2 separate regions of the Homo sapiens genome follow, and region 2 is linked to region 1. Evidence: promoter capture Hi-C in human tissues and cell types (Jung and others, 2019). All regions are on one chromosome and are shown on one strand. Each heading gives the region's core, a stretch centred on a gene start or on the middle of the fragment in contact. The rest is flanking DNA. Distances are from core to core; before and after follow the strand shown.

The links. Contacts are between HindIII fragments. The study calls those that stand out against the background at their distance.
Region 2: a fragment that was not itself captured here is called in contact with the fragment with the promoter of DUSP22 in region 1 in 1 of the 25 tissues and cell types used here (mesendoderm cells).

Annotation. Positions count from the first base shown.
Region 1 is chr6:291,237-297,849 of GRCh38, reverse strand. DUSP22 (dual specificity phosphatase 22) reads right to left here and starts at 5,363. Exons shown (of 7, transcript NM_001286555.3): 1 at 5,290-5,363. The coding sequence starts at 5,310. RefSeq lists enhancers at 214-303, 4,631-4,890, 5,183-5,683, 5,684-6,184, 6,111-6,400 and 1 more and silencers at 4,071-4,130, 4,141-4,200, 4,080-4,236, 4,981-6,000. The HindIII fragment of the contact is 13,317 bases long and covers 1-6,613 here.
Region 2 is chr6:718,945-725,755 of GRCh38, reverse strand. No RefSeq gene overlaps it. Among named protein-coding and RNA genes, the nearest start is that of EXOC2, 29 kb to the right of the region's middle. RefSeq lists a silencer at 3,574-3,653. The HindIII fragment of the contact is 7,049 bases long and covers 1-5,246 here.

The DNA.
Region 1 (6,613 bases), core at 4,114-6,613:
CCAGGTGGAAAAAATGGATTTAGCAGCACAAAGGTGCCTGACCTGCCAGCCCTTCCCGTATGAAAACAGAGCTTCTCAACCCTGTAAGCCCTACTCCACCTTTTGATAACTCTCCAGTTCCAGATCACACAGGCCTCAGGAAATTCTGAGAGGAAGAACCCTCAATAGTGGTTCTCAACTGGGGATGATTTCACTCCCCAGGGGATATCTGCCAACATCAGGGACATTTTTGGTTGTCACAGGTGGGGAGGTGCTACTGGCAACTATTGGGTGAAGATCTGAGATGTTGCTAAACCTCTCATAATCCACATGGCAGTCTCACAAGTAATTATCCTGAAATGTCTACAGGTGTAGCCGTTGAGGAACACCGGTCTATGCCTAGAGGGAACATATTCTCTTTGAATTATAATCCTTTCCCAACTATACTCCCTCATCTTCCTAACAGGGCAAGAGCCATCCTCAAACAAGTGTCAGTCACATCCAAGAACACTCAAAACAGACTGTATTTGCACTTCACAGTTTGGAAAAATGTGTTCTAATAAATTCCCATTTGCTTCTCCCAATAACCCAATTAGTAATTGGGGAAGGTATCATTACCCTCATTTTACAGCCAGTAAGGAGACTGGATTAGCTAACCACCTAAGGTTTCTTAGTTCTATACATCTATGAATCCAGGAAGGAAAAAAATCCTGAAGCTTAGAAACATTTAAGTGACTTCTTCAGGATCACACCCATGAAGCAGCAGTGGTGGAGGTGCCCCAGATCAGGCTTTTTGTTAGCCAGCCCCTCTTAGCAACAGTGCGCTCCCCATGGAAACAAGATGCACCCACTGAAGTGAGGCCTCCCAGCACCATGAGAGGCTTCCCGAGAAGGACAGGGATGGCAGCCATTCCCACCAGGCAGGGTGCTTTCAGAGGACACACAGCAGGGAGGAAGGAAGAGGCCACAAGACCAGGCAGGCCGGATGCTTGATGAGCTAAACGAACCCTGGCAGTCAGTGGAGGGCAAGATGCCAACCAGAGGGTCCTCATATCCTGCCCTAGAATGCAAGGCTTCAGCCCACTTTTAGGCTGATCAAGATAAAGACTTCTTGCACATGAGAAGCATTTGGGGCAGCCTTCTCTGACATAATGTTTGGCTAGAGACTAGTCGTTTGTTTTGTTTTTAATGGGGTATTGTAGTACTGAAGACTAATAAGTAGACAGTGAGGATAGGAGTTTTGTTTATAGGCTCTCCCCCAAAAGATTTGAGGGTTCAGACTCGAGAGAACTTTGAGTCAACTAGGAGTTTTCAAAGGCTCCACAGGAACACGACATTTGCATGCAACACCCTGTTTAGTTTAACCCTAATCTTACCAGAGACATTTACTAGACTAATATCTTAGCAGCGTGGTGAGGCACTCTGCATTGTGGCCGAGCCAGACTGTGGCTTTGAGTCCAGGCTCTGCTACTCACCAGCTGGGTGACCCTGGCAGTTCCCTTAGCCTCTGTGTACAACCAGAAAACAGGCATGAAAATAACAGGATCTACTTCATGGAGTTGTGGCTTACTCTATGTGGTAAAGTACTCAAAACACACCATAAACTCATTGGCAATTATAATTTTGGCCAGTGTGGGGCATCTACCTAGGAATTGCACACACAAACAAAAACAATAAAAAAAAAGTTTTAGTTTCTTGCCTGTAATTACCCCCTTCCTTATCAATGTCAAACATAAAGGAAGAGAGGAGGTGATTTTGGCTATTTGACAAGTAATCGAAGCTATGAGGAGCTTTTCAAGTTACTTTTTAGGAATTTTAAAACTTACTTGGGATGAATTAGCATCTCAGCTCAAAGGAAAGACTTTTCCTATCTTCAAAATCAGTGGAGACTGGGTTCTGCCCTGCCTGGCATTACTTATGCTACCTAACCTCTCCAAATCTCCATTCCCCAATCTGGGCAAATATAAGGTCGTTTGACCTCATAGGGCTACCGTGAGGCTGAGATTTTATAAAGTGTTAAAAAAAATGGTTCACAACTGTGTTGTTGTTGGGTTTTTTTTTTTTTTTTTTTGAAACAGGGTCTCGCTCTGTCGCTCAGGCTGGAGTGCGGTGGCACAATCACGACTCGCTCCAGCCTAGACTTCCCGGGCTGAGGTGATTCTCCCACCTCAGCCTCCCAAGTAGCTGGGACTACAGGCACAAGCCACCACACACTCGGCTGATTGCTTTGTTTTTGTGGGTTTTTTTTTTGTATTTTTGGTAGAAACAGGGTTTTGCCATGTTGCCCAGGCTGGTTCTAAACTCCTGGACTCAAGCAGTCCACCTGCCTCAATCTCCCAAAGTGCTGTGATTACAGGCACGAGCCACCACGCCCAGTCCTGTCTTTATTTCCTCATCTTTAATTTTCTAGAATATAAAAGCCTTTTTCCCCTCCATCTTCTGTATAATCTGCTGCGTACACCTAACGGAAACGGGCACAATATTCCGCCGTACAGGAGCCCGGAACGGACCGACAAGAAGAGCCACCACAGGGATGTGAATGATAAAAACTGCTGTCCCAAAGCACTCAGAATGCAGCGTGCACTGTTTAGACCAGAAATGCTCTTTTGCCAAAAATGACCAATGTGTACGAGATTGGAAAGAAATCTTGTCCCAGTAACCTCAGGGCACACACATTCCAAGTTATGTTAGTTCCAAAGACATTGCACATATTTATAAATGTTCTTAGAAAAGGATTTCTAGGGGTAGCACCTTCCGCTGATTCTGCAAATCAACCATTCTTCTTTTTTTACAGATGAAGCCTCGTTCCAAGTCACACAGTAATATATGGAAAAGTTCTAGTTAAGGTTCTTAAGTTACTGGCCTCCTGCGATCTACTTTGCCACTAATGAACCTTGTGATTTGGGGTAGTTCCTCCTGATCTCACGTTAAACATGTTTACTGCAGCAGGATTCCTTGCCTGGGCTGAATGCCCCTTCTAGGTCACTTTCATCCCATCTTCTGCTTTCCCCACTTTTCTGAAATTGCCTATTTTATCCTCTGGAGCCTCTACTCCTCCCTACCTTGTGTTTGTTCTCTCTCTCACCCCCACACACATACACACCCTGTGTTGTGCAACACAGCAGCCATTAGCCACAGTGACTATCGAGTACTCCAAATGTGGCTAGTCCAAAATGAGATGTGATTTAGGCATAAAATACACACTAGACTTTGAAGGTTAAGTGATCTGGGGGTCCCGAGATTTTTCCTTTCACAAAGACATAGTAAAAAACATGGAATCTTCCATGAATAACTTTATATATTGGTTACATGTTGAAACAATAGTTTTAATATATTGTTAAATAAAATATATTATTAAAATTAATTTCACCGGTTTATTTTTTAATGTGGCTACCGGAACATTTTAAGTTACATATATAGCTCGCATCATATTAGTGCTGGACAATGCTGACCTGTACTGAAGGTTCTGTGAAGAATCTTTGGGTCATTTACCACTGTACTCCCTTTGCCCCCTCCCCACCCACTAGCACAACACCTGGCTCATAGTATGTACATAATCAATAAGTGTTGAAGCAGGGAAGTCTCTAAATCTCTCTATACATGTATTTCTTCATTGATACACTGTGAGTCTCTATTCACAAGATAATAAAAGTCAAGAAATTTATTACCCATTTTGAAAGGTAAAAAGTATATGAATATTACTGCTTTTGTTGAAAAGCATGAAAATAACGTTGATCCCTTAGGCAACCATCTGTATTCCTAAATATATTTTTTGAATTGTATTACACAAATACTATAAATTAAATGCTGAAAACGGTGGAGAGTGAACAGCTCAAGTGGGAAAACTAGAAACAGCCAAAGGAAAGCTGAGATACCACCACCAATGGGAAGGCAAACGGAGCCCACAGACTTATGATGACCATCTTTATTGTTCTGTTTTAATTTAAAAAGCAGAAGGCTCGTGGTGCTGATGGATTCCAGTGCTCATCGGAATATAATACAAGTATTTATCCAAGAGAGAGACAGTCTGTTTCCAAACTTGATCACTCGCCAAAAAAAAAAAAAAAAAAAAAGTGAATACAATTCTCTTTACCAAAATACCCCAGTATTGATATGCAGGTCCCAAACACACAATAGTTCTTTCACAAACTGGGTAACCAGGACACAATAAACACGACATGCGCACGTGAAAAGTTAGCTAGGTTTTCCCTGCCCTACCGTGAATCCGCATTTGCAACACTCCAGCCCCAACACCCAAACCACTGCTGACCCAGTGCTGAGGGACATGAAAAAAAACACAGCCACATTGCCATCCCCACCCAGTGTGGAAGCTGACGGCATGTAGAGATGTGGGTGGGTGGAGCGCAATGAAAAAGTGAAGCAGAAAGACGACTCATCTAATCCAGGACCATTCAAAGACCCGTAAAAAGGTACTTGTCTTTGTTGCGGGCTTTGTAAAGTCTTGTCAATCCTTCCTCGAAACCAGCCAAGTACCAAGTAACAAAATCCTTAACCCTGTGGTTCACATGAATACACCCCGGCAACTCTCAGCTGCCAGAGCTGGAATCTGGCAACTTCCCTGGACGGGAAAGGCTAGCCCACCGCCCGGGAAGTGAGGTGCGGGCAACAAAAGAACACAGGGTGGGGCCCAGAAACGGACGGGACAAATGGAGCAACACAGATTTTCCAGAAGGCCTCATCAGCGCAAGCAGCCAGCAACAGGTTGCCCTTGTTGCAGAAGTCACATAACCTAATCAACTCTGAATCTTTTCTCTCCTCCCCACTATCTAGAAACAGCTCAGGACTTAGGACTCTGTTAACTTCTCTGTCCACAAGAAAAACTTCTCTGTGCTCACAGGCACACACACAGAATCTGAGGAGAAAGAGGAAATTACAGAGGACACCCGTTTACTAATGATGTGGGGGGGGCGGTGGTGGCTTCAAGAGCGTAGTTTGGGAGCGAAGAGGAGGGCAAAAAAGAAGCCACATCCATTCGGAGCTCAGCTGACCTCTCGGCAGAACAAGTGTCAACGCTTTCAAAGGGCGCGGCTTGTTTCAGCCACGAAAACGCACCGGCTGGCAAGGCAGGCGGCTGGGGGCTGCCTACCCGGAAGCCGGGTGGGGTGGGGGCGGGAACACCTCCGAACCCCGACTCCGCGGTCGCCGCCCAGGCGCGCCGCCCCTCCCTCCGCGCCCGTCCCCACCGCGGGAAAGGGCACCCCGGGCTCGAGTCGTCGGGCAGCCGACGCCGGCGAGACGGCAGGGCGTCGGAGCGGAGGCAAACCCAGCGCGAACGAGGGAAGACGTTACCTTGTTCATCCCATTCCCCATGGTGGCTGAAGGCGAACGCTAGCGCCCCGGCCGTGTGGTCGCAGGCGCACTATGGCATGTTACAGGGAGGAGGAGCGGCGGGGCGGGCGGGGAGGAGGCGCGCGGGAGGGACTGAGTGCTCGCAGTGTCAACAAGTCAGCGGCAGGGACCGGCCGGGCAACCCAGGGCGCTCCAGAGACCCGGCGTGGAGGGCAGGGCTTTCTGTGCGGCGGCCTAGAACTTCCCGGCGGGAGCCGGGCAGGGGCACCGGAGCCTATGCCGGGAAATGGTCCCGCCTTGCCGGTCCCCGCCCCCGTGCGCACCGGGCAGGCCCAGCGTCCCTCCTCGCTCCGCCCGCCCGCACCCTGGGATTCGTAGTCGGGTTCCTGGCTGCCGCGCCCCACTCCGCCCTCGCGGACCCCGGCTCGCGGCCGCCGGGCGTGGGAGGCACTAGGCTCGGGCTCCCAGGCGGCCGGCCCCGGAGGCCAGAGCGCGTGCGCGGCCCGAGCCGCCCCGCCGGGACACCCGAGGCTGCGCGGCGGGGCCTGGCGGACGCGCAGGCGCTGCCCTGACCGGGCGGCTGCGCTCGTCTCGGAGCCCGCTCCCCGGCCGGGGGTCTCCAGATCCCCCTTTGGCCTTTTCCCCTGGGGCGACTCCGGGGGCCAGTTACCAGCAGTCGCTACCCAGCCTTGGCTGCCTCCGTGAATCAGGTGCTAATCAGAGGCCTGGTCTCTGGGGGCTCCCCTGCCTGGGTTTTCTGAGTGCGGCAGATTTAGGCTGGGGGATTTCCTGCGGCCCTGCCCCATGCACCAAGACCGAGAAGCCTCGCCTGGTGGGGAGAGGTGGGCTACGTGACTCACCCCGGGGAGGCCCGACCTCCCTACCCTGGGGGAGCAGATGGCTGGATCTCTGACCTCAGACCTCACGGCCTTAGATGATGTGTGTCCCTTAATGTCTGCATTGTGGTTCTGTCTGGAATGGATCAATTTCTAAACTGTAGCAGAATTGTTTTGGGTGTTCTATCAACGTTATTAAACTCTGAAGTTTCTCTCCAGCGACAGAATCCTTGAGCCAGTGGTTTTTCTTCTTAATTTATGTATCCTCAACAATGTCCTGAACATAGTAGGTGCTTAATAAATATTTGCTGAATGAGTACATGCGTCAATCTGACGTGCCCTGGCTCACCCCTGCTGACTTCATTTTATCTTCTTGCTAAGCGAGTTACACACATGCTGGTCTCCTGTCTGTTCCTTGAGCCTGTCAGGCTTGCTGGGCTGTGCTCTCTATCCAGACACCTGGATCCCCAGCTCTCTGCATACCTGCC
Region 2 (6,811 bases), core at 473-2,972, 430 kb before region 1:
ATGTCCTGAATGGTATTGCCTAGGTTGCCCTCAATATAATAAGAGCCATCTATGACAAACCCACAGCCAGTATCATACCGAATGGGCAAAAGCTAGAAGCATTCCCCTTGAAAACTGGCACAAGGCAAGGATGACCTCTCTCACCACTCCTATTCAACACAGTACTGAAAGTCCTGGCCAGCGCAATCAGACAAGAGAAAGAAATAAAGGGCATCCTAATAGGAAGAAAGGAAGTCAAATTACCTCTGTTTGCAGACAACATGATTCTACATCTAGGAAACCCCACCGTCTCAGCCCAAAAGCTCCTTCAGCTAATAAACAACTTCAGCAAAGTTTCAGTATACAAAATCAATGGACAAAAATCAGTAGCATTTCTGTACACCAACAACAGCCAAGCTCAGAGCCAAATCAGGAAGGCAATACCATTCACAACTGCCACAAAAAGAATAAAATACTTAGGAACACAGCCAGCCAGAGAGGTGAAAGACCCCTGCAATGAGAATGCAAAGCACTCTTCAAAGAAATCAGAGATGACACAAACAAATGGAAAAAAAGTCCATCCTCATGGAGAAGAAGATTTAGAGGCTACTGATTAGGAGTTTCAGTGGAAAGTGGGGTCTGAAGCCAAATTGCAGAAGTCTGAGGTGTATGTATGCAGTAAGTAAAGAGACAGCAGATAATGAATCTTCTTTAGAACACAGAGCAATTGTTTTCCTTTTTTTTTTTTCATGGAAGGGAAAGCAAGTGTCTAATATATCATGACAGCCCCATGTTGTTCTCTAAACACTACTATGCATCCTGAATTTTCTTTGAATTTTGCACTCCACTTATTTTACGTTTGGGAGATACTAAATATTGTGTATCCTGGTTTTGCAAACTGAGAAAAGACTTGAGTGCAGGCAGAAAGGTCAGGGAAGAAAGAAAAGGTGTTAGGAGGGCATGGTTGAGCTGGGTTGCCACTATGGGCAACTGGAGCTGGGTCTCACTGAGAGCTTTGGAGGAACCCAGCAGAACACACTTCTGAGGATCATCCCTTGGAAGGGCTGGAAGGTGGGAAATGTATGCTGACGTTCAGTGGGTGCTGACTCCTGCCTCCAAGGACCAAGAGTTGCTCCTAAGGGCATTAACTCCCCTGGCACCTCCACAATGGCTAACTGCTGGCTGAGAAGGTACTTCTGCTCTAGAGAAAGACCGTTGGTAAGCTGAGAGAGTCCATGAGCCCTCGGGAAGGCATGCATGGGGACTGTCCACTATGCTGCAACAGAGGTGGCATAGTGCAGGGCACAGGCAGCATGCCAGTTCCATCTAAAACCTCCAACTTGGCTAATCCTGGAATCCCTGCTCCAGGAGGTGCCATGCTGACTTTGTGCTCTTTCATGTCCCCTGGCACATGGCAGGAAACGCACACACACCTGTTTGAAAAGCATAAACTTAGAAGCTGCATATGTTGGATTCTTTAAAGAAACAGATATCCAAACAGGTGGAAAAAGCCTAGGCCAGGCACAGTGGCTCACGCCTGTAATTCCAGCACTTTGGGAGGCTGAGGCGGGTGGATCACGAGGTCAGGAGATCGAGACCATCCTGGCTAACATGGTGAAGCCCCATCTCTACTGAAAATACAAAAAATTAGCCGGGTGTGGTGGCGGGCGCCTGTAGTCCCAGCTACTCGGGAGGCTGAGGCAGGAGAATGGCATGAACCCAGGAGGCGGAGCTTGCAGTGAGCCAAGATCATGCCAATGCACTCCAGCCTGGGCGACAGAGTGAGACTCCATCTCAAAAAAAAAAAAAAAAAGAAAGAAAAAAGAAAAAGCCTAGACCTTGCAAAAACTGATTCAGTCGAAGCTCAGCTTCCAAAAGTCCAGGCTGAGACAGGGAGGGCCAGGCGGACTTCACTTGGAGATGGAAAGGCAAAATATTGCCTCCAGCAGACATACAACATGGGAGCAGATGATCAGTTCTCCTACTGGTTCCTGCCTGTAATTGCAAAGCCAGGACCAAACCCATGCCTCCGAAAAGTGAATGGAGAAATGAATACTTCCATTGTAGATATCACTGAGACAAATACTTCCTTTGCTAAAAAGCCTAAGTGGTTAATAATTCATACTTTAAACACTGTCATAGTGTTAATACAATAGCACAGGGAAATCAGTGAGAAGTGACTGCATACCCAGTTCCAAACAAACAACTTGACTGTTTCCATACCATCCTCTCTCCATGCCCAGAGGTCCTATTCAGTTGACAGGCATTACACGTTTAACATGGCTCAAAGATCAGTGATGCCCTTGATGAGGGTTATCTTTCCATGTGAAGACTAGCCATGTTCCCTCCCTCAGTCGAAACTGAACTCTGCAGCATCAGGCATGTCCTTTCTTCTTTCTGATGGAACTCATAATGCTCTAAACCCTGTGGGACTCAAAACTTAGCTGTCACGTCAAGAACATCACCTGGAAACTTGTTAGAATACAGATTTTCTTCCACTCCCCAGACTTTATGAATCAGAAACTCTGGGAATAGGGCCCAGAAATCCGTGTTTTTTCGAGCCCTCTAGCAGAGTTGAATGCAATCTAACGTTTGAAACCCACTGCTCTAAATGAGACCCTAAGGAAGGACTCAGCCATGCTACAAAGGCCAGGTACTAGGCAACGGGGCAGGCACGAGAACACATAGGGAAGGCCAAATCCTCATTCTCATGATCTTGCATTCTAGGGAGGGTATTTGTGGGGACATGTAGGAGATGGGCACATATGCTAACTTTCAATAAAAAGTTGAGAAAGGTTGACCTCGGATCCTTGGATAACGCATGAATGTTTCAGGCATCAGATGGTACTAATTTAAGGATCTGGACTGAAAGCATGGAGTCCTTGTGGCTCTGAAAATCCCACAGGACAGTGGCTAAAATTCTAATTGTCAGGATAAGTTCTGTGGTTCTGAACTGACCTGTGGTTTCACAAGAGAAATACCCACAGCTGTAGAGGAAACCACGAAGATCTGGAAACTGCCTGCAGGGGTCAACAGCCGTAATATATTCTACAAACCATCTTAAGGAACCACAGAAAATCATCAAAAGGAAGAAAAATGCATTTCTTGGCTTGGAACTTATTGAATGTTTAAAATCAGGGAATGGACTGGGTAAGAAAGGAAAGACCTCGTGGGCTTTATTTCCATAGAGAAATGGTAGTTGGACTCTATATATTCATTTCCCACTAAGGCTATTTGATAACAGAATACCAAAGAGGAGTTTCTTTCAGAATATATCATTATTGCGTTTTGCATTTTGATTTCATTTTTTCATCTCAAAAGACTTCAGGAACTTATATACCTCTGCAAAAGCTTAACAATATTCATCTTTTTTGTTTAACAGATGTGCTTTTACAAAAGAAATGTTCAAGTAAGGAGAAAACTTCAATCGTCTAACTTTAGCTTTTTGATCATTACCCTTAAATTCGCTGCCTAGGAAACAGCAACAAGTAAGTCATCACTGTTATGAAGCAAAATTGTTTACATTTGGTTTAAGATCCGCCTCCTAAGGAAAGGGCTCCGGCGGCTCCTTTGCGTGCCTGGAGAGGCCTTCGCATGCGCCCTCTAGTGGGTGCTTGGAGCTCATAAGCAAAGGGTCATTTCCAAAGTCTACAGTGGAAATTGACGCTGATTTTCAAATCCAAAAATTGGTCTATCGCTATTCTCCCCAAAAGGGACATTTTTCTTAATCTGCTATAAACATAGTGAAAAGTTGTTACTTCATGGTAAATTATTAGCACGATATTTGAATAGTCATTACATTCATTAAACTATTCTTTAAAATTACAATTATAATGTTAGTACTTGCATTATACATCGTGTTTATATAGTACCATTAAAGTCAAATGGCATTTAATATTCACAGCATAAAAGATAAAAGTATCATATAGTGATATTAGGAGGAAAAATCCTCCTGGTATCATTAGGAGAAAAATTTCTTCTAATGGAAAAAACCTCCATTCCCCAACTTTAGCTTTTTCAGCACCATCACTTGTGCTCCGTGCCTCACCTCACCAGCCGCAGGAGAACCCAGCTCCTTCTGACGGGCCCTGTCTCCTGCACCACCAGTTGGAAGGCTTCATTCCCGGCAGCAGACAAGCAAGGCTTGCTCTAGTTCAGCATAAATAACTCCTTCTTTTACCCCACATCCCTTGGAGATTCCCTACCCCCACTTCTCTACTCTTCTCCACAAAACTTTCCACCTTCTGGCCTCACATTCTCTCTCGAACATGCTCTGGTGAAAGCAGTTTTCATCTTCATGGCTCAGCTAAAATGGCTCTTATCAAAAGCACCAACTACGTTCCTCTGGCCAAATGCAGCGCTCCATCTGGGCCCTTTTCTTACTTCCTAAGTGGTATCTGTGAACGCATTTGCCAATCTCCCTTTCTGTAACATCTAGTACTAACATCATGTGACACATAACAAAATTTTGGTCAATGAGAGACTGCATCTATGATGGTGGGCCCATAAGACAATAAGATACCATATTTTTACTCTACCTTTCCATGTTAAGATACACAAACACCATTGTGTCACAACTGCACATGCTGTGCAGGTTTGTAGCCTAGGAGCAATAGGCTATACTAGAAGTGTCCAATCTTTTGGCTTCCCTGGGCCACACTGGAAGAAGGATTGTCTTGGGTCACACATAAAATACACTAACACTAATGATAGCTGGTGAGCTAAAAAAAAAAAAATTGAAAAAAAATATGTGTTAAGAAAGTTTACAAGTTTGTGTTGGGCTGCATTCAAAGCCATCCTGGGCCACAAGTGGCCTGCAGCCAGCAGGTTGGACAAGCTAGTGCTGTATCAGGTTTGTGCAAGTTCACTCTTTGATGTTCACAAAATGACAAAACCTGTAAATGATGAATTTCTCGGAGTGTGTCCCCATCGTTAAGTAACGCATGACTGCATCGGAAACTTACCCAAGCTAAACTGTAACTCTAAATCGGCACACCCAAACCTGCTTCTCTCAGTCCATGTCACCACCGTCCTCCTGGACACTTAATGCCCCTCTTTCACTCACAAACATATTCCACCTAATAGCAAATCCCAGCAGCTTAACTGCCAAAAGAAACTCTGAGCCTTCCATCCCCTGCCGATTCCTATTGCTGACACCCCAGTGTAGCAGCAACACCTCCACCCTCAGCAGCTAGGACCACCTTAAAATAGAGATAAAATCTTATCATCTCCCAGTTCACAACCCCCCAGAGGCCACCAGTCTAATTAGGATGAAACACACCTCCCATGGCCAACAAGATGCTATATCTAGCGCTTCTCAGTCCACAACACCTGAAATCCCTCTGACCCTGCCTGTAGGCTCCACCCATCTTATCTACTTTGCAAGAGCAGTTTCCTCTACATGGGATGTTATTCCCCTGCATGGCCAGCTACCTCTCATCTTTCATATCCCAGGAGTCCCGTCACTTCCTCTGTCCACTTATCTGACCATGCTACCAGAAGCACCCCTTCCCACCATCCCACTGCCCCTTTCAGAATCTTCATAGCACCCCTTTTCATCCTAAATCATCTCATTAACTTATGCCTATGTTTAAGTGTCTCCACTCACCAGGATAGAAGCTCAACAAAGTCAGAGATATATTTGTGCTCATTCAACATGATTGAGCAAATCAATGAATGAATAAATTCCACTTCTTGTGCGTGGCCAAGTGGCCAGCTCACTGCAGTGGCTGCTGGGGCTCCCTCTTCCCAGCGTGTCTCTGGGTTTACAGCTTGTTTCTGTCTTTCAACACTCCTGTGGTGCTTAGGAACCTGCACCCGTAGTGAGCATCCTCTTCATATTTTCTCCAGTTCTCCAACAGGTGAAGTGCCCTAAAGGGAAGCTCTGACTCCAATTAATCCTATTCCTGGCTCTGGTCCTAAGACAGATGACTTGGAAAGAGTGTAGGGAATGGGTTGATTAGGGCAGACATGAAACCAATATGAAGACTTTTCTAATGGTGCAGGAAGAAGGTAGTGAGTGCCTGAATGAGGGCACCGACAGTGGGGTTGCTGGAGAGGGAAGAGATTAAAGAGATACCATGATTAAAGAGATTAAAGAACATCATTCAAATAGGTATGTGAGGTTAAGTGTATTAGTCAGCTCCAGCTGCTGTGACAAAGTACCAGAGACAGGTTGGCTTAAACAACACGTTTTTGAGTTTCAGAGGCCGCAAGTCAGTGATCGAGATCAAGATCGGCATGCCTGGTTTCTTCTGAGACCTCTCCTTGTCTTGCAGATGGCGCCCCTTGCTGTGTCCTCCCATGGCCCTCATGCCTCTCTCTCTTCTTATAAGGACATCAGTCCTGTTGGATCAAGGCCCTACCCTTCCAATCTCATTTAACCTTGGTTATCTCCTTATAGGTCCCATCTCCACATACAGTCACATACTTCAACATGTGAATGTTGGGAAGACGCAATTAAGTCCATAAAGGAAGGGACAGGTTAAGAAGCATTAGTGGGCCAGGCGCGGTGACTCACGCCTGTAATCCCAGCACTTTGGGAGGCCGAGGTGGGTGGATCACCTGAGGTCAGGAGTTCGAGACCATCCTGGCCAACATGGTGAAACCCCCTCTCTATTAAAAATACAAAAAGTTAGCCGGGCGTAGTGGTGGGTGCCCGTAATCCCAGCTACTCAGGAGGCTGAGACAGGACAATCGCTTGAACCTGGAAGGTGGAGGTTGCAGTGAGCCAAGATCATGCCACTGCACTCCAGCCTGGGCAACAAGAGCAAAACTCTGTCTCAAAAACAAAACAAAAACAAGAAGCATTTGTGAGGATTTCCAAAATTAC